5 separate regions of the Homo sapiens genome follow, and all the other regions are linked to region 2. The links are contacts of gene promoters, found by promoter capture Hi-C in blood cells and fetal thymus (Javierre and others, 2016). All regions are on one chromosome and are shown on one strand. The core of a region is centred on a gene start or on the middle of the fragment in contact, and the rest is flanking DNA. Distances in the headings are between cores, read along the strand shown.

Region 1 (4,394 bases), core at 1,773-4,272, 490 kb before region 2:
CAGGAGTTTGAGACCAGCCTGGCCCACATGGTGAAACCCCGTCTCTACTAAAAATACAAAAATTAGCAGAGCGTGGTGGTGGCGCCTGTAATCCCAGCTACTCGGGAGACTGAGGCAGGAGAATTGTTTGAACCCGGGAGGAGGACGTTGCAGTGAGCTGAGATGGCGCCACTGCACTCCAGCCTGGGTGACAGAGCGAGACTCTGTCTCAAAAAAAAAAAAAAAAAACACATCAGTAGTTTTAAATTTCCTTATTTCGGGTTTTCTCTCTCTTTTTTTTTTTTTTTTTTTTTAGATGGAGTTTCACTCTTGTTGCCCAGGCTGGAGTTCAAGTGATTCTCCTGCCTTAGCCTCCCGAGTAGCTGGTATTAGAGGCATGCGCCACCACACCCAGCTAATTTTGTATTTTTAGTAGACACAGGGTTTCTCCATGTTGGTCAGGCTGGTCTCGAACTCCCGATCTCAGGAGATCCGCCTGCCTCAGCCACCCAAAGTGCTGGGATGACAGGCGTGACCCAACGTGCCCGGCCTATTTCAGGTTTTCTATATTCCATCTGTCCAAATGAAAGTCAAAAGATGAGTTTTCTTACTGCCAATTATTAATGACTAAACACCATTAAAAACAGCACCTTGAGAGCCATCTTTCCCAGCGTGGCTGTGCTAACAATGACGTCACATCATCAGTTCATTCTCCAGTGGAACCAGGAACACAAAAAACTGGAACAATTCAGCTACAGCTCATTGTCTTTTTTCCCACTAAAGATAAACGTTCTCAGAATATCTGTATCAATGTAACTAAGGTATTCCTAGTTCTCAGAATATCTGTATCAGCCTAATTAAGTCAATAAATACGACTAAGAGAACACATTACAAACGTAACAATGTTAGGCTACTACTGCCTTAAGGGACCTAGTTGTATCTTCTTACAACCAGGGATAGCAAGACAGAACTGCATTCCGAGAGTGTCCTTTCAAAGCTGCAAAGGGAGGAGTTATCTAGTGACTCCGCAATGAGTCTCAACCTCCAGGCTCTGTTTTACAAAAGGCACTTTCAGGTGGGGCGCCATGGCTCACGCCTGTAATCCCAGCACTTTGGGAGGCCGAGGCAAGCGGATCACCTGAGGTCAGGAGTCCGAGATCAGCCTGGCCAACATGGTGAAACCCTGTCTATTAAAAATACAAAAATTAGCTGGGAGTGGGCACGCGCCTGTAATCCCAGGTACTCAGGAGGCTAAGGCAGGAGAATCACTTGAACCTGGGAGGCGGAGGTTGCAGTGAGCCAAGATCGTGCCACTGCATTCCAGCCTGGACGACAGAGCAGAACTCCATCTTGAAAAAAAAAAAAAAAAAATTAGCCGGCGTGGTGGCACGTGCCTGTAATTCCAGCTACTCAGGAGGCTGAGGCAGGAGAATCGCTTGAACCCGGGAGGTGGACACTGCAATGAGCCAAGATCACACCACTGCACTTCAGCCTGGGAAACAGAGCAAGACCCTGTCTCAAAAAAAAAAAAAAAAAAAAAAGGCGCTTTCAAGTATAATTTGAACAGATGCTTTGGTAGCATAAAGGTTTTAAGCAGGAATCATCTGTAAAAAAAATTATTAAAACTTACCACCAGTAGGACCAAGAGTCATAACCAACTTTTATTATATTATCAGCTGCCAGGTTGCTACGCAACAGGCGGCTCTCCCCTCCTGCGTCCTGTGCGTTGTAAGATTTTTCAGTGGCATCCCTGGCCTCTGTCCACTAGATGCCAGTAGCACCCGTCCTCCCAGTCTATGCCAACCAAATGTGCCTCCAGACACTGTCATACGTCCCAGGGAGGGGAAGGAGGCAGACTCACCCCGGTGTCGTACTCCAATGCCCTTCACAGGACAAAGAACACAAGCATTCCATCTCAAATGACAAACTGCAGCAAAAACCAAATACTGTCTAGAAATCTACGGAATTCTCAGCAGAGCACCTTCTCTGTTCCTAACAAATCAGCAGAGGCGTTTGAAGCCCAATGTGCACTCTAAACTGACGTGCACGAGGAAAGCAGGGCCGCAGGGGCTGTGGCTCTGGCACGAGGTACTTTCTGGTCTCCCTGCCACCACTTCCTAGGTACAGCTGTAACACCTTGTTCCGTGCTCAAAGCCCGCTTCACATTGTAGAGATGGTAATGTGTGCCTTAAACATGCCCTCCTGTACTGCATTTTAGCAGCAAATTCAAAAATTCCTCATGAAAAAGTGTGGAGGTTGATTTACTATGACTGTCATTATTTAAGATATTATAAATTGCTCCAAAAACCAAACATAAAAGAAAACAAGAGCCCCACAAAAATGTTAAACAGATAAGAATACTACTACCCAAATGCCAACTGCTTTCACTAAAAGCTTCCTTAATTTAGAAATCCTCTTTTCTTCATTTTCCAAAAAAATCTTTCTCTTCAACAAAGCAGGAATAGTTACATTTTCACAATGGAAAAATCTGCTGTTACTGTAACAGCCTCATCTCCTGGAATATTTCCACCAATCATGCACAGAGCTGTGCTGTACTTCTGCAACCGCAGGTCTAAATGGGACCTGCCAGTAAATGGGGGAGCCACGCCTGACTACAATCACTTCACTATTAATAAATGATCAGCACTTGAAAACATGTATAGGCCAGGCAGGGTGGCTCGCACCTGTAATCCCAGCACTTTGGCAGACTGAGGTGGGGGGACTGCTTGAGGACAGGAATTTGCGACCAGCCTGGGCAACATAGCGAGACCCCACGTCCAAAAAAAAATAAATTAGCCCTGAATGGCCATGCAGGCCTGTACTCTCAGCTACACGGGAGACTGAGGTGGGAAGATCGCTTGAGTCCAGGAGTTCAAGGCTGCAGTGAGCTATGATGGTGCCACTGTACTCCAGCCTGGGTGACAGAGTGAGACTCTAAATAATAAAATAAAAGGAACACAGAGTTTTACCACTGGAAGAAGTACTAAACACTAAGGTGAGGCAGAAGTAAGTTGGTTACTGGGTTTTTAACTTAAAGTAACAATTATGCTAAAATAGCTGCAATGTGTTCTGTGTCTACAAATCAGTGATAACAATGTATCTCAATTTGCCAAATGAATATCTTCGGTTTTGAGACAAAGTCTTGCTATGTCACCCAGGCTGGAGTACAGTGGCGCCATCTCAGCTCACCACAACCTTCACCCTGTGGGTTCAAGTGATTATCCTGCCTCAGCCTCCTGAGTTGCTGGGATTACAGGCATCCGCCACCATGCCCAGTTAATTTTTGTATTTTTAGTAGAGTCGGAGTTTCGCCATGTTGGCCAGGCTGATCTCGAACTCCTGACCTCAGATGATCCACCTGTCTCGGCTTCCCAAAGTGCTGGGATTACAGGCAAGAGCCACCGGGCCCAGCCAAAATTTCTTTAAAAGCTATCTCTACCAAAAATACAAAAATTAGCCAGCATGGTGGTGCATGCCTGTAATCCCAGCTCCTCGGGAGGCTGAGGCAGGAGAATCGCTTGAACCCAGGAGGCGGAGCTTAAATACAGAGTAGTTATTAAAGGCAACTGATTTGTACACTGAACACTTTTCAAAGTGCAAAGCGCCATTTGCCCTCTGCTATGAACATCCCTTTATTTATGCCAACACATGCCAACTCCTGTGTCCCAGGCTCAGCTCCACTCACAAGCTTGTCAGGAGTTTCAGGTCGCAAAACGAAGGCATTTCAGCCACCTTGCAGCCCTTCAATACGGAAACACACCAGACTTTCCTAGTAGCTCCGTTCCGACCCGCTCTGCTCAGCTCTTCAAACAACACAATCTCGTTTTCTTTTCCACTGGGAGCTGTCCTCCTTCAGACATCGTCTGCTGTCTACTCGGCAAAGAGCTGACCAGGCCTCAACTCCATTTCTTTCTTTTTTTTTTTTTTTTGAGACGGAGTCTCGCTCTGTCGCCCAGGTTGGAGTGCAGTGGCGCGATCTCGGCTCACTGCAAGCTCCAATCTCCTGGGTTCATGCCATTCTCCTGCCTCAGCCTCCCAAGTAGCTGGGACTAGAGGTGCCCGCCACCATGCCCAGCTAATTTTTTGTATTTTTAGTAGAGATGAGGTTTCACCGTGTTAACCAGGATGGTCTCAATCTCCTGACCTCATGATCCACCTGCCTCGGCCTCCCAAAGTGCTGGGATCACAGGCGTGAGCCACCGCACCCAGCCTCAACTCCCATTTCTTGGTGGTTCCTTCAGCCACTTCACCTTAGTGATGAGGTTTCCGCTCCTCCTAACCCTAATCTCAACTCTGCTCTCCTTACAAGGTCCCCACTTTACATGCACTCCTTCTACCTCCACTCCTTCCTTATTCTCCAGCCCTATGTCCAGCCTCCTTCCTTATCCTGGAGACAACAGCCCTCTCAAAGGCTG
Region 2 (2,601 bases), core at 1-2,500:
CAGCCTCCCACAAGAAGCTGGTGGAGCAGAGTGTTCCCTGACGCCTCCAAGGAAAGGAGACTCCCCTTCGCAGTCTTCTAAGTAACGGGTGGCTTCCCAGACAACGGCATTACTGCTTGACCAAGGAGCCCTCAAGCAGCCCTTATGCGGGAGTGACAGAGGGCTCACCTCTTGCCTTCTAGGTCACTTCTCACAATGTCCCTAGGTTATATTAGTAATGCAACAAAGAGTAATATTAAAAGCTAATGATTAATAATGTTTATACTAATGATTGATAATTATCCATGATCATGATCATTTTTATATCTAATTTGTATTATGACTATTTTTATTTTAACTGTTTTTTTTTTAAAGATGGAGTCTTGCTCTGTCGCCCAGGCTGGAGTGCAGTGGCGCAATCTCGGCTCACTGCAAGCTCCGCCTCCTGGGTTCGCGCCATTCTCCTGCCTCAGCCTCCTGAGTAGCTGGGACTACAGGTGCCCGCCACCGCGCCCGGCTAATTTTTTGTATTTTTAGTAGAGATGGGGTTTCACCGTGTTAGCCAGGATGGTCTCGATCTCCTGACCTCGTGATCCACCCGCCTCGGCCTCCCAAAGTGCTGGGATTACAGGCGTGAGCCACCGCTCCCGGCCTATTTTCTTTGTTATACTGAAACAGTTTGTGTCTTCAGTCTCTTGCCTTGGCATCTAGGTAATCCTTCGCCCACAGATGAAAGCGGAGCTCTGCTGACATTGGTGTCTTCTCCAGACGTAGTTGGTTGTCCAAATTCTTTCCCTTGGCTTTAAAGTGAGCCGGCGGTGTCCTGCTCCCAAGCCTGAGAGATGATGGGCACAGGCGACACTTTTTAGGACATGCCGATGTTTTCAGAAACAAAACAAGAAATGTTAGCCCTGAAATTCTCCATTTCACGTGTTCTTCCTGATATTAACCACACATTCTTTCCGATATTAACCACCACATCGTCTTTTTGCAATAATCTTGGCAGGGAAAAATATGCTAGCCAGGGTCCACTACGTCGATTTCAAGCACGGAAGATGGGTCACACCAGGCACTTCAAAAGACCCGTCCCTGAGGCAGCGGAGACCCCGCCCCGCCCCGGCGCGCCCACTCCTTTCGGCCAATCACTGCAGCGGGGAGCAGCTATTTGAATGTCCCCACCGCCTATCTGAAGGCCGCCCTGCCATTGGCCCCGCCGCGCCCCGCCCATCGTGGCCAGAGCTTCAAGTTCCGCAGCCCCAGTGCGGAGGGCGGAGACTGCGCCGACATGGAGCTGTTCCTCGCGGGCCGCCGGGTGCTGGTCACCGGGGCAGGCAAAGGTGGGCGGCGGGGAAAGGTGGGCAAAGGCCGGCGGCGGGCAGAGGCGGGCAGGGGACGCCTTCACTGAGCCCGCTCCCGGCAGGTATAGGGCGCGGCACGGTCCAGGCGCTGCACGCGACGGGCGCGCGGGTGGTGGCTGTGAGCCGGACTCAGGCGGATCTTGACAGCCTTGTCCGCGAGGTAGGTCCCGCCGGGTCCCAGCGCTGCGAGGCGGCGAGCCAGGAGGGGGCGGCAGCGAGCGGGGGCGGTACCTCTGTGCGCGACTCCGCCTCCCCTCGCGGGCGCTGCGCTTCTCACCGCGGCCTGGGCGCCCGCGCACCCTCTCTCGGGGCTGGTGGCCTGCGTGGGCGGCCGGGTGGTCGGCAGAGCCGCCGGGGCCCCCGGGCTCAGAAAGAGGCCGAAATGGCTGCGAAGCAGGCCCCGGGCAGGAGTCGCTCGGGCGCAGGGAGGAAGTGAACCGGCCGGAGGTAGCGCCCGGCTGCTGGCCCCACAGTCCCGACACCTTCGGAACTCCTAACTCCTTTACTTGTCCGGCTGAAAGGTCACCAGCCCCAGTCCCCAGCTGTGCCGCTTGCTGGGCACAGAGCCTCTGGTAACTGCCCCCTGATACACACAGTGCCCGGGGATAGAACCCGTGTGCGTGGACCTGGGTGACTGGGAGGCCACCGAGCGGGCGCTGGGCAGCGTGGGCCCCGTGGACCTGCTGGTGAACAACGCCGCTGTCGCCCTGCTGCAGCCCTTCCTGGAGGTCACCAAGGAGGCCTTTGACAGGTGAGCCTGTGAGGGCGGAGGAACCTCAGGGAGGGGCTGTCCTGGAGGACGCAGCAGCCCTAATCTCTGACCAGGGTCTGTCCCTCGGCCTCTAGATCCTTTGAGGTGAACCTGCGTGCGGTCATCCAGGTGTCGCAGGTGAGCTGCCCTGTGGGCTGGACGGGAATTCTCGTGAGTGATGCCAGCTCTGCCTCACGGTCTCGCTGCGATTCCAGATTGTGGCCAGGGGCTTAATAGCCCGGGGAGTCCCAGGGGCCATCGTGAATGTCTCCAGCCAGTGCTCCCAGCGGGCAGTAACTAACCATAGCGTCTACTGTGAGTGCCCCAGCTGTGCCCTCAGCCCCACCCCAGCCCCAGCCTCGCCCTCATCACCGACCCCAGCCCCAGCCAGCTTGGGTTCCTCTTCGTAGGCTCCACCAAGGGTGCCCTGGACATGCTGACCAAGGTGATGGCCCTAGAGCTCGGGCCCCACAAGGTGAGCAGGGCTGGGGTACCTCCCCCAACCTAGGACAC
Region 3 (3,861 bases), core at 392-2,891, 410 kb before region 2:
TTGTGGAGACCAAGATTTCCATTAAGCAGAGGAAGTCTCCAGGTAGCAGGCTTCAGAGAGAATAGATTGTAAGTGCTTCTTATCAGAGTTCTCCCTGAAGCAGGAAAAAGACCTGGAAAGGAACGGGGATTCGCTACAGAATGTAGATTTTCTTCACAAGGGACAGCTTTGCAGGGCTATTTCAAAATAAGTCGAAGAAATTTAATGTGGGGTAAAGTACTTCCATTTCTTCCAAGGCTTCCTATCTGTCATGTAGTCCTATACCAGAGTCAGGCTGGAATTTGGCGTCATTGCTACAGAGTCTACTTTGTCAACTTCAAGATCTGTTTTTGTTTTGTTTTGTTATTTTTTATTGAGATGGAGTCTCACTCTGTTGCCCAGGCTGGAGAGCAGTGGCACGATCTCGGCTCACTGCAAGCTCTGCCTCCCGGGTTCACGCCATTCTCCTGCCTCAGCCTCCCGAGTAGCTGGGACTATGAGCACCCGCCACCACGCCCAGCTAATTTTTTTGTGTTTTTAGTAGAGATGAGGTTTCACTGTGTTAGCCAGGATGGTCTCAATCTCCTGACCTCGTGATCTGCCCACCTTGGCCTCCCAAAGTGCTGGGATTACAGGCGTGAGCCACCGCACCTGGCCACCTCAAGATCTGTTTTAATGTGAATGCTGGTCAGCTGTGTGCCTGAATTCCAAAAGGGAGGAGGGAGTGAGGTATGTCTGTCTCCCCCTTCCCATCACTGCCTGAGCTAGTTTTTCAGGATAACTTGGGAATGCTCTTGGCCAAGCGGAAGGGTCCATTCAGATGGTTGAGGTTTCGAATTGCTGACTGTATCCTTGTAGAATCCTTTAGTACAGTCTTGTCTTCCACATTTCCAGTAATTCACTCTAGAAGCTTGTTCACATTCAGGTTAAATTTTTTCTGGCAAGACTACTTCATAGTGTTGTGTACTTCTGATATCTAACTGACCTTTTTGCGATGTTAATTAGCAGTCATTGATGACATTGCCTAGGTCCGTTAATTCATAGGGTGATGTTTTAATCCTACTGTTTCTTCTTCATTTATTAGCGGGAAAACTTCTATAATGAGAAATTCTTCTCATGCAGTATTTGGTTACTCTGCTGTAAATTTCATAAAGGCAGGACAAATGCTTGATGCTTTCCTTTTATTAACCAGGCCACAAACTGGGGTGAGCTTACCAGCATCCTCCAAAGGTGAACAGAGTTAAAAAATACATTATTATGAATTACAGACTGGAGCATCTGAGGATTTTAAATTCACTCGAATTCCTGTTCTTATTCATGCTCAAATCTTCTTTTTTGGCAATGAGAACCGCTTCAGTTTCGCTTCTATGTTAGCAAGACGTTCATAGTCCTTGGTAAGTTCTTTGCTGTCGGATACGTTTCCCCGCACGTTTCTTTTTTTCAAGAAAACTGGCTTCTTTAGCAGGAACCACCCGCCTCCTCCTGCGGCTCCGCCCGGATCCCGGAAATCCGCTCGGCTCCGCCCCATCCAGGAAATGCTTGCGGCCCCGCCCCAATCCCGTAAGCGCGCGCGGCCCCGCCCCCAATCCCGGAAGCGCGCGCGGCCCCGCCCCCGAAAGTCGGCTCGGCTCCGCTCCAATCCCGGAAGTGCGCGCGGCCCCGCCCCCGCCGGTTCGCGTCTCTCTGCTGCGGCGCGGGGACCGCTGTGCTCTCGGTAGGCGGCTGGGCTGGGTGGGCTCCGCACTTCCTTCCCGCTCCGTGCCGCGCGTCCCGGCACCCTTAGGCCCACTCCGGGAGGGGTCTGCGTCCTGGGCCCGCCTGCCGGCTGTTCCGTGTCCCGCCGTGCCCGTCGCGGGCGGCCTCGCGCCTGTTCCGCTGCAGGTTGGCCCCGGCGGCGGGAGCGCCCCCGATCCGGACAAAGAAACGAGCGCTCGGTGCGACTAGCGGCGCGGGCGGCTTTGCCAGCGCGCGTGTGCTTGTGTCCGCGAGTGTGCGTGTGTGTGTGCATTTGGATGTGGAATGCCGGGTGTTTCGGGAGCAATGAGGCAACTGAGGCCCGGGAGGGAGCCCAGTCATATACCAGCATCTAGGATTGGTTTGTGTGATTTGAACCCACTATTTTTTATTTTTTTGAGACACGGTCTCACTCTGTCACCCAGGCTGGAGTCCAGTGGCACGATTTCTGCTCACTGCAGCCTCCACCTCCCGGCCTCAGGTGATCCTCCCAGCTCAGCCTCCTGAATAACTAGGACCACAGGCGTACACCACCACACCGGGCTGTTTTATGTATTTTCTGTGGAGACGGGGTTTCGCCACGTTGCCCTGGCTGGTCTTGAACTCCGTGACTCAAACAATCCGCACGCCTCGTCCTCCCAAAGTGCTGAGATTACAGGCCTGAGCCACCGCGCCCAGCCTGAACCCCCTACTTAATGTCAGAAATTTGATTTGACTTCACAGGGAAAGCCCTGAGAAACTACCAGAACGGGGTCCCTGGGGCCAGTGTTGGGAGCGTACGGTGAAGTGGCAGGGCTGCTGCGCCCGTGCGGAACTCCGCTGTGGAAGATTAGCCCCTTTGGTGACTCGTCGGTTCTGGCCGCTTTGGGACCCTCTACTGTGCAGTCTGAACTTTCAGCAGGTGGAGGAGGGCAGAGAGAGAGCTGAGATCGTTGGTCCATGCCAGTGCGAGAGCCAGTACGGCCGGAAGCCATGATGGGACTTTCAGTTCCTTTCTTGGTGGAGGCCAGCACAGGGGAGAGGGGGTGCCCACAGATGCTAGAAGCTTAAAGGCTGCTGGGGGCTAGCGGCCTCAGGACATAAGGTTTCCAGACAGGACGGGGCAGGTGGTGATGCAGCTGTAGCTCGTGAGTCTGAGCGGGAAACAGCCCCCGCGCAGTCGGTGTCGCTGTGAACGGAAAAGGGCCTTCCTTACACAGGAAACGGGGTCTCTGGGGGATCCAGTGACGTGCCCAACCACAGAGACCAGGTGAGACTGGCTGATGGTGTCTGGGGCTGCAGGTGACTTAGTTGGGGGACCTGCTCTTGGCCTCCAGACTGGGCCTGATGGCGTGGGCGCCTGCCTGTGTGCAGGCCCAAGGGCTCAGCTGCCTCTGTCTGTTCCCAGACCCCTCCTCCTGTAGAGAGTGGTGCTGCCCTCTCGGGATGTACCTGCAGGTGGAGACCCGCACCAGCTCCCGCCTCCATCTGAAGAGGGCTCCAGGCATCCGGTCCTGGTCCCTGCTGGTTGGTAAGGCTCTCCACGTCCCTCCCCAGAACCCCAGAACCGGAAGCCTGACTTTCAAAAAGGATGAAAATGAAACAAAATATTTTCTCTTTTTTCTATTACCTTGAAATCTAATGGCTATTTTGTTTCTTTGTATCCATTCAAATTCTATCTGGTGTACTTGGTTTTACAGATAATGCATGTCTGTTTTGTCCCCTTTTAATCACTAACACCCAGCGTATTTAATATACTCTATGAGCTTTTCTGAGGTCACCATATTTTCCTTTGTACTTGTTTTGAACCACGTGATGGGTGATCGTGGGTTCCCATGTCTCCTCCTCCCTGGTCCTCAGACCTCTTCGTAGGACTCACAGTCCACTAACCACGTGATGGGTGATCGTGGGTTCCCATGTCTCCTCCTCCCTGGTCCTCAGACCTCTTCGTAGGACTCACAGTCCACTAACCACGTGATGGGTGATCGTGGGTTCCCATGTCTCCTCCTCCCTGGTCCTCAGACCTCTTCGTAGGACTCACAGTCCACTAACCACGTGATGGGTGATCGTGGGTTCCCATGTCTCCTCCTCCCTGGTCCTCAGACCTCTTCGTAGGACTCACAGTCCACTAACCACGTGATGGGTGATCGTGGGTTCCCATGTCTCCTC
Region 4 (4,201 bases), core at 908-3,407, 350 kb after region 2:
CCCCCTGCAGCCATCCTCTCCCCCGGTTAGAGCGCAGCCTGGCCTCGCGTCTACGGCCCTCTCGGGGACGCCGTCCCGGTGTGACGTGCAGGACGGCGTGCGATCAGAGGCTGCTGCAAGCAGGCTCCGGGGCACTTGCACCTCAGCCTAAGCTCCTTTCCAGAACCCCTCTGCATCCTCAGCGGCGCCTTCCCTTCACAGCCCTGCCTCACCCCAGAGGAGCGAACCGGCTCAGGATCTGCAGCCTGACTGAAGGAGCTCAGGAGCACCAGGGTCGGGCAGGGCCAGACTCCGGCACCTTCCGCCTCTCAGCCAGGACAGGACGGGACAGGAAGCCAGCCAAAGTGGCCAGTGAGGGCCTTTGAGAGGCCTGGCTGTCCACCGGGATCCCCGGGCAGGTTCTCAGCTGTGTGAGTCCAGGGAGTCTCCTATGAGACCCAGGTCTGGCCCACAGGTTGGGACAGAAGGGGAGCAGCCTGACTACATGGGACACTCTTTCTCCTTGACACCTGCAACAGCATCCCCACTGCATCACAGTCCACATCACAGTCCCTGCAGGTGTCCCCAGCACAATCCCTGCAGATGTCCCCGGCACAATCTCCTGGGGATCTGGAGGGCTTTTCCTCCTCTGCCCAGGAAAGCATGAAGCCCTCGCTCTCCAAAACAGCTCTTATCCCCGCCAGACACATCCGATCTTACAAGCCCCCGCTCAGAGCCCTCCCAGGCCCCTGCCTGTGGGATGTGGCCAGCCTGCCCTCCGGACCACAGCCACTCTCACACACGATAGCCACCACCTGCCCTGCCCACCCAGTGGCATCTACTCACCTTCCCTAAGACAGCAGGTGCCCAAGCCCTGCCTCCCGGAAGCTTCCCCCAGGCCCCAGGGTCGCTGTCACCTTGGTCCTCCAGACACAGCACCCCAGGCCGGCTCCTGCTAAACCCTGACCTCCCTGGATTGGGGCTCACGGCCCTGTCTCTCCGACTCATGAGTGCGAGCTTGCGCAGTGCAGGGACCACCGATCTGCACCTGCACATTTTCCGCCACACCTGGTGCTGTTCTGTCATCAGTGCCCAGTAAACACCCGGAGAAGCAAAGGTGCCAGCCTGGGTGGCCACCCGCATGCCCCCGTCTCACCCACCTTCAGCAGGTCCTTCAGCTCCTCCATGGTCTGCTTGTTGGCCACCTCATCATGAACTGTCTGGCCACAGTTCTTTACCACAGATTCCATGACCTGCAGATGCCCAGGAAGGGAAGGGTTGGGCCAGTGGTCAGGGCAGGGCCCCTCCTCCTCCCGGACAGACCCACCTCCCTGTGGGACAGCAGAGCCCTTCGACAGGCCCGTCAGTGGCCGGTGGGGAACCCGGTGGGACAGCAGAGCCCTTCGACAGGCCCGTCAGTGGCCGGAGGGGAACCCGGTGGGACAGCAGAGCCCTTCGACAGGCCCGTCAGTGGCCGGTGGGGAACCCGGTGGGACAGCAGCCCTTCAACAGGCCCGTCAGGCCAGTGGGGAACCCACATCTGAGACTCAGCAGCCTGCACAGCACCGCTCCGTGACGCCAAGTCTCACTGCCAAGCACAGCAATGACATCCGCCTTCTGGTGTTTACTCACGCAGGACCGGCTGAAGAAGTGGTGCCCACTCCCTCCCCTATCTCCTGTCTCTCCCTCAGCGTGACCCTCTCCTAGGTGGCACTGTTCACACAGGCACTCAAGGCTGAGTGGAAACTCTCCTGCTTGATGTATGCCCAGGGAGGTGGGCAAGGCCACAGGACAAACTCTTCTCATGCTGTCGTGACTAGTAGGGGGTAGGGACCCTGGGGGCCACTGAGGCACGGGGGTCTGCTTACCTCCAGGGCATACAAGGCGACGTGTGGGTTCTTGTCGTTGACTTTCTTCTTGATGGAATTCACAGCATATTTTGCTCTGAAAAGGAAACATTGATAAAAGCAGAGAAAAACGGGAAAAAAATAGTCTCAGCAACTAAGATGAGAAAAGCTCATCTGCTGCCAGGTGCAGTGGCTCACGCCTGTAATCCCAGTGCTTTGGGAGGCCAAGGCAGGAGGATTGCTTGAGCCCAGGAGTCTGAGACCAGCCTGTGCATTACGGCAAAAACCCATCTCTACCAAAATACAAAAAATCAGCCGGGCGTGATGGTGAATGCCTGTAGTCCCAGCTACTCAGGAGGTTGAGGTGGGACGATCGTTTGAGCTTGGGAGGCAGGGGCTGCAGTGAGCTGAGATCACGCCACTGCACTTCAGCCTGGGTGACAAAGCAAGGCCCCGTCTTAAAAAAAAAAGTCTGTCTGCCATCTTAGTCTTTGAGAACCCCGAAGCAAATACAAACATAACCAGGTATCTGCAAGCTGTACAGAGAAAACCCCTTAATCCTCCAAGATGTCAAAAAATCCTAGCATGTAGCCCATGCAGTTCTCCACATAAGAGCCTAACACGGTCAGCTACGTCGTGGAGACCCAACGGGCACCAAGCGAGCCCAGCTTAGTGCACGGCTGCTCCTCCGCATCAGGGCACAGGCCCCGCTAACTCACTGTGTGTCCCCTTGGCGGATCAGGTCGCAGATCTGCAAAATGGACTCCCAATCTGTCTCCAACAGGAGCTGGCTGGTCGCCTTGTCTGAGAGAGAAAATGCCATGAAAGGGAGGGGTTATCCTGCTGGACGCCCCGTGCAGCACCCCAGCTTGGCAGCAGCTGGGGGGGACTCTCTCCTTCCCCTTTAGACATTTGGACCAAATGAAAAAGCATGACAGAATCCTCCTGAGCGTGCTGATGGGCAGGGAAGTGCCATCCTCCCCAGGGAAGCAGCAAACAGCGTAAGAGCACACCAGGTGCTGGTCCAAGCCCTCCCACAACCCGCGAGCGAGGTAAAGACACTCAGCAGAGAGGCGAGGGCACTGCCGTGAGTCACACAGCTCACCAGAGACAGAGGCTGATTCACTCTTAAACATCAGGCTCGGCTGCTTCTCAACAAAGAACCCTATCACCCGTCCCTTGGAGTCCCCGTTCGCCCAGATGCTCCCGGTTTCAATGGGACCTTAGCTTGGGCAAGGGCTAGAGAGGCCTGCAGTGTAGACTCCAGGCCCCTTGCTCCAAGCCAAGTGCTTTGGAAATAAGGGCAGAACGGGGCTCCAAGGAGGACTCGCCAGCATACCTGTCATCATACCACATCACTGCTGTCTCCAACAACTGGCCCCTCTGGGGGGGCAGCTCCAGCTCTGCCCACATCGCCTTTCCCGGATACAGAAACGATCTAACAAGCCAAGCCACGTCCACTTTCTATACTGATTCAGTAGTTAACCTCTGGATTCATCCCTGAAGCACTGAACTACCTGTGTGGCTGAGATACTCAGTCTGCTTGCTGGTTCCCTTGGCAAGGAAGGTGTCTCACTTGAAGTCTCCTTGAAAACCCTACTTGACAAAAAGGCAAGCTTGGGCAGCCCATTCGACCACCCAAGCTCCTACCCCCAAACATTAGACGCATTTTCCACGTGCTGCTGGGCACGTGCACATCAACATTCGTTTCCCTCCCAAAACGCGTCAATTCCAGGAGGCTCAGATAGGATCAGCTTTCACCTCCAAAAACGTGAGAAAACGCCTTCCTAAACCATTAGGCACTTCCCGAAGCCAGTGTGGGAACAAAAGGTGGGTCTGGGACCCGCAGCCCCCAAGAGAGCTCGAAGGTCCCAGAGAGAACACTGCCGGCTCCACCCTTCGAGGCCCAGTGTTTTGGGTCAGAAGCCCAAGTGCGAGCCTAACATCCGACTGAGTCACCCACTTTCATGACTCAGGCCTTGTGGCCCACTCGGCCGGGTGCTCGTCGGTCAAGAGGAAATCGGCCGAATGCCCGGGCCCGCGGAGGAGCGAGGTCGCCGAGCGCCCCTGGCGCCCTGCGCGGACCCTCGCAGAGCCCCATTTGCCAACGCCCGACGGACGCCGACCCCACGGCCGCGCCGAGGGTCCAGGATCGGCGGCTCCGAACCCGGGAGGACAGCGGGCCGGGGAGAGGCGGGCAGGGCGGCCGGTCCGCGCCCCTCGGGCCCTCGGGGCCGCGCTGACTCAGCGCCGGGCGGAGGCTGCGGGCTGACCAAGGCCGAGCCGTCGGGTGGGGACGCGTTACCTAGGAGACGCTCGAAGGTGCCGCTGCCTCGCCCCATGGCGACCTCCAGCCCAAACCCGACGCCGCGGGC
Region 5 (4,489 bases), core at 1,272-3,771, 390 kb before region 2:
CCTACTGCCCAAACCCCTCCCGTCCAGGCCTGTAAGTACCCCAGCCTGTAAGCGGCGGTGGGCTCTGGCATTAAGCTGGTCCCCCCTCTGTAGGTTTCTGCACTATACCTCTGTTGCTGTAGAGACGCCCTCTCTCTCTCTGTCTTTCTTTAACCCTCGCCTTCCCTTTAAAAAAACCTAACACCAGGCTCAAGCCATCCTCCTATCTCAGCCTCCTGAGTAGCTTGGACTACAGCCCCATGCCACTATCCATGGCTATTTTTTGCATTTTATGTAGAGATGGGGTTTCACCATGTTGCCCAGGCTGGTCTCGAACTCCTGAGCTCAAGTGATCCACCCACCTCGGCCTCCCAAAGTGCTGGGATTATAGGCGTGAGCCACTGCACCCGGCCTAATTTTTGTATTTCACATAGAGATGGGGTTTTACCATGTTACCCAGGCTGGTCTCAAACTCCTGAGCTCCAGTGATCTGCCCACCTTGGCCTCCCAAATTGCTGGGATTACAGGCGTGAGCCACTGCTCCTGGCCTTCACATTTTCTTATATGCTTATTGGCCTTTTTTGTTTCTTCCTTTGGGATTGGCCAGTTAATGTCCATTGTGCATTTATCTTTGGGGCCGTTATTGATTTTCACAGAGACCTGTGATTTTAGCATTAAGCAGGGGCCTCCCATCTCCACCACACCTGATTTTATTGATTTTGATTCTCTCCCCTTTAATTCTTCTCTTCTCTAACTCAAGGCTCAACTGTGGCCTGAAGAGCAGCCCCTCCCTGCGCGGAGGCCTCCTCCAGCATCCTCCAGCCTTCTCTAGCTCAGCCTTCTACAGCCTCCTCCAGCCTTCTCCAGCCTCCTCTGACCTTCCCTGGCCTCCTCCAGCCTTCTCTAGCCCAGCCTTCTCTGGCCTTCTCTAACCTTATCTAGCCTTCTCTAACCTCTAGCCCAGCCTTCTCCAGCCTTCTCCAGCCTTCTCTAGCCTCCTCCGGCCTTCTCTAGCCCAGCCTCCTCCAGCCTCCTCCAGCCTTCTCCGGCCTCCTCCAGCCTCCTCCAGCCTTCTCTAGCCTCCTCCAGCCTTCTCCAGCCTTCTCTGGCCTCCTCCAGCCTCCTCCGGCCTTCTCTAGCCCAGCCTCCTCCAGCCTTCTCCAGCCTTCTCCAGCCTTCTCTGGCCTCCTCCAGCCTCCTCCAGCCTTCTCTAGCCTCCTCCAGCCTTCTCCGGCCTTCTCTAGCCCAGCCTTCTCTGGCCTTCTCTAACCTTCTGTAGTCCAGCCTTCTCCAGCCTTCTCCAGCCTTCTCTAGCCTTCTCCAGCTTTCTCTAGCCTTCTCTAGCCCAGCCTTCTCTGGCCTTCCTTCTCTGGCCTTCTCTAACCTTCTCTAACCTTCTCTAACCTTCTGTAGTCCAGCCTTCTCCCATCAACAGAAGAAACGCCTGCAGGACAGAGACAGGAACTGCAGCTCTTCCCTGTAGGGGGCGCTGCTGATGCTTACTTTCCCTTTAAATGTTTCAAAATTCTCTCCAGTGAATGTTTGAAATGAAACTTTGTTTTCATACAATTAAAGAGATGAATTTAAAAAGACAAAAAAGGAATGTACCCACCACTGTTCAGTTCCTGACTGTGCCACCCGCACCTCCAGGTTGCTGCTCCTCCTGCCCTGCGGAACCCCCCCTTCCCCGCTTTCACGCCGCGCCCCTGTACCTGCCACGGGCAGTGTTACCTGTAGGCGTACTTGGCCCTCAGCAGCCTCAGAGGGCCCTCGTAGGGAAACATGTCTTCATACTCAATGAGGAGGCCGTTTGCACCTAGCGCACGGAACAGAGGAAAAATCTGGGGGGTAAACAGGGAGGGGTTAGGAAGAAGTGGCTGCTGGAGCACGATGTGGCAAGTCCACAGCAGGGAGACGCCTTCCCTTTCAGCCTGTGGAGACTGTGGGAGTTGCTACTTCTATTTCTCCTGGGAACCTTAAATCCGGAATGTGTACTTTACGTTATGCCAAATGAAACTCCCCGTTCCAGTGACTATTTTGCACAGAAGGGGAGATATGCTATGAAACAGGGCTGCTACTCAACGCGCTGGTGGCTCAGCTTGGGAGGGACGGGTCCGGCCAGCAGGGAGCCACCAAGAAGCAGCTCTTCATGCACGGCGGCCCAGCAAGGCAGCCAGGCTGAGGGGCACCAGCAAGGCATGGGGGACAGGGCAGCCAGGCTGAAGGAGAATGGCAAGGCATGGGGGACGGGGCAGGAGGAGCCGGGGCAGGGGGAGCAGGGCTCTGAAGGGTTGGGGTCAGCACCTGGGGGAGGTGAGAGAGGGGTGCAGAACTCATTCGTTCCTGGTCTGTACTCATGGGGTCCCTTCCCCCTTATTCTCCTCCCCACTTCCTTGTCTTTCTCTCTTTTTTTTTTTTTTTTGAGATGGAGTCTCGCTCTCTCGCCCAGGCTGGAGTGGAGTGGCGTGATCTTGGCTCGTTGCAACCTCTGCCTCCCGGGTTCAAGCGATTCTCCTGCCCCAGCCTCCCGAGTAGCTGGGATTACAGGCGCCCGCCCCGATGCCCAGCTAATTTTTGTATTTTTAGTAGAGACGGGGTTTCACCATGTTGGCCAGGCTGGTCTCGAACTCCTGACCTCAGGTAATCTGCCCCTCGGCCTTCCAAAATGCTGGGATTACAGGTGTGAGCCACTGTGCCCGGCCTCTCTCTTTTTTTTAACAGATGGGGTCTCACTCTGTTGCCCAGGCTGGAGCGTGCTGGCATGATCATGGCTCGCTGCAGCACCCAACTCCTGGGCTCAAGTGATCCTCCAGCCTCAGCCTTCCAAGGAGCTGGGACTACAGGCACATGCTAGGCCTCCTGGATGACACACATGCAGGAGAACTAAGGAGCCCCAGCTGACAGTTGGGATGAACTGCCGGACATGGAAGGCCACGCGGACCATCAGAGGTTTCTAGATGTTACGGGGCTGTGACCACCTGAGGGCACCTCGGTCAGAAAAGCAGAATCACGCAGCCAACCCACAGAAACACAAGGGGTGATGAATGGGGACCTCAAGTTTGGGGAGATCTGTCACGCAGCAACAGATGATGGAAACAGGGACTCCAGCTGTGTGTAAGTTGGATCTTCTTTGCCTATATTCAATTGTCAGAACGCCTTTCCTTTCTTTTTTTTTTTGAGATGGAGTTTTGCTCTTGTCCCCCAGGATGGAGTGCAGTGGCACGATCTCAGCTCACCACAACCTCCGCCTCCCGGGTTCAAGCAATTCTCCTGCCTCAGTCTCCCGAGTAGCTGAGATTACAGGCACCTGACACCACGCCTGGCTAATTTTTGTATTTTTAATAGAGACAGGGTTTCACCATGTTGGTCAGGCTGGTCTCGAACTCCTGACCTCAGGTGATCCACCCTCCTCAGCCTCCCAAAGTGCTGGGATTATAGGCATGAGCCACCGCGCCTGGCCCAAGTCAAAATGCCTCTTCATCAGCTGTATGTAAGTTCAGTCTTCTTTGCCATATTCAATTTGTCAGAACGCCTTTTCATCTCTGTTTGCTTTTTTCTTTTCTGTCATCTGTTTCCAAATACTGCACTTTCCATGGTGTCTACTCACTTGTACACTTCTTATAGTTTAGTCTTCATTAAAAACATTGTTTTTTCCTTATAATTCATTTCTGAGCTCCACAGGCAATTTTTTACAACCTCCTTTTGTCTGATTACCACATTTCTGGGCTTTTTTTTTTTTAGACTGAGTCTTGCTCTATCGCCCAGGCTGGAGTGCAGTGGCACGATCTTGGCTCACTGCAACCTCCACCACCCAGGTTCAGGTGATTCTCATGCCTCAGCCTCCCAAGTAGGTGGGATTACAGTTGTGAGCCGCTGAGCCTGGCCTGGGCTTTTCTATTTCTGATTTATGCTGTTCTTTCACAGCTTCCGTCATCTTCTGAGTATCTTTTATCTTGTTATGAAATATTATGGAACAGTGTTTCCTGCTGGGTGGGCCTGTGTGTCTGGAGCACCTTCACTGCTGCAATGCTATTCAGATCATCTTCTTTTTTCTTTTTTTTTTTTTTTGAGACAGAGTCTCACTCTTGTCACCCAGGCTGGAGCGCAGTGGCACAATCTCGGCTTACTGCAACCTCCACCTCCCAGGTTCAAGTGATTCTCCTGCCTCAGCCTCTCGAGTAGCAGGATTACAGGCGCCGCCACCACACGGGGCTAATTTTTGGTATTTTTAGTAGAGACACTGTGTTGGCCAGGATGGTCTTCATCTCCTGACCTTGTGATCCACCTTCCTCGGCCTCCCAAAGTGCTGGGATTACAGGCGTGAGCCACCGTGCCTGGCCTTCTTTTTTCTTACCTATCTTTGTATGATGTTAAACAACACTCTTTTTTGCTTCTTTTTTTCTTTTTTTGAGATGGTGTCTTGCTCTGTCACCTTGGCTGGAGTGCAGTGGCGCAATCTTGGCTCACTGCAACCTCTGCCTCCTGAGTTCAAGCAATTCTCCTGCTTCAG

What was found. The method cuts DNA at HindIII sites, captures the fragments that hold promoters and counts their contacts. A CHiCAGO score of 5 or more calls a contact.
Region 1: a contact is called between a fragment that was not itself captured here and the fragment with the promoter of DCXR in region 2, in 1 of 17 cell types (activated CD4 T cells). The highest score is 5.6, in activated CD4 T cells.
Region 3: a contact is called between the fragment with the promoter of CYBC1 here and the fragment with the promoter of DCXR in region 2, in 5 of 17 cell types (activated CD4 T cells, naive CD4 T cells, naive CD8 T cells and 2 more). The highest score is 6.3, in activated CD4 T cells.
Region 4: a fragment that was not itself captured here is called in contact with the fragment with the promoter of DCXR in region 2 in 1 of 17 cell types (erythroblasts); the score reaches 5.0 in erythroblasts.
Region 5: a contact is called between a fragment that was not itself captured here and the fragment with the promoter of DCXR in region 2, in 4 of 17 cell types (non-activated CD4 T cells, M2 macrophages, total CD8 T cells and 1 more). The highest score is 7.1, in non-activated CD4 T cells.

The regions. Positions count from the first base shown.
Region 1 is chr17:82,526,345-82,530,738 of GRCh38, reverse strand. The region is part of intron 1 of FOXK2 (forkhead box K2); the gene reads right to left. Among named protein-coding and RNA genes, the nearest start is that of FOXK2, 8.8 kb to the right of the region's middle. The HindIII fragment of the contact is 1,294 bases long and covers 2,376-3,669 here.
Region 2 is chr17:82,036,346-82,038,946 of GRCh38, reverse strand. DCXR (dicarbonyl and L-xylulose reductase) reads left to right here and starts at 1,250. Exons shown (of 8, transcript NM_016286.4): 1 at 1,250-1,316; 2 at 1,400-1,497; 3 at 1,934-2,088; 4 at 2,184-2,226; 5 at 2,304-2,403; 6 at 2,499-2,563. The coding sequence starts at 1,265. It overlaps DCXR-DT (DCXR divergent transcript), which reads right to left and starts at 1,029. Exons shown (of 2, transcript NR_159948.1): 1 at 679-1,029. RefSeq lists a silencer at 1,030-1,859. The HindIII fragment of the contact is 4,930 bases long and covers 1-2,601 here.
Region 3 is chr17:82,448,532-82,452,392 of GRCh38, reverse strand. CYBC1 (cytochrome b-245 chaperone 1) reads left to right here and starts at 1,641. Exons shown (of 7, transcript NM_001033046.4): 1 at 1,641-1,693; 2 at 3,101-3,223. The coding sequence starts at 3,139. RefSeq lists silencers at 1,581-1,940, 3,251-3,300 and an enhancer at 2,571-2,830. The HindIII fragment of the contact is 1,869 bases long and covers 892-2,760 here.
Region 4 is chr17:81,684,034-81,688,234 of GRCh38, reverse strand. It overlaps HGS (hepatocyte growth factor-regulated tyrosine kinase substrate), which reads right to left. Exons shown (of 22, transcript NM_004712.5): 1 at 4,132-4,201; 2 at 2,546-2,630; 3 at 1,848-1,923; 4 at 1,140-1,232. The coding sequence starts at 4,168. Among named protein-coding and RNA genes, the nearest start is that of HGS, 2.1 kb to the right of the region's middle. RefSeq lists a silencer at 3,994-4,093. The HindIII fragment of the contact is 2,575 bases long and covers 870-3,444 here.
Region 5 is chr17:82,421,725-82,426,213 of GRCh38, reverse strand. It overlaps HEXD (hexosaminidase D), which reads right to left. Exons shown (of 13, transcript NM_001330542.2): 3 at 1,711-1,820. It overlaps HEXD-IT1 (HEXD intronic transcript 1), which reads right to left and starts at 889. Exons shown (of 1, transcript NR_170223.1): 1 at 1-889. It overlaps LOC124904091 (a long non-coding RNA gene), which reads left to right. Exons shown (of 3, transcript XR_007065958.1): 3 at 1-302. RefSeq lists an enhancer at 1,396-2,231. The HindIII fragment of the contact is 7,971 bases long and covers 1-4,489 here.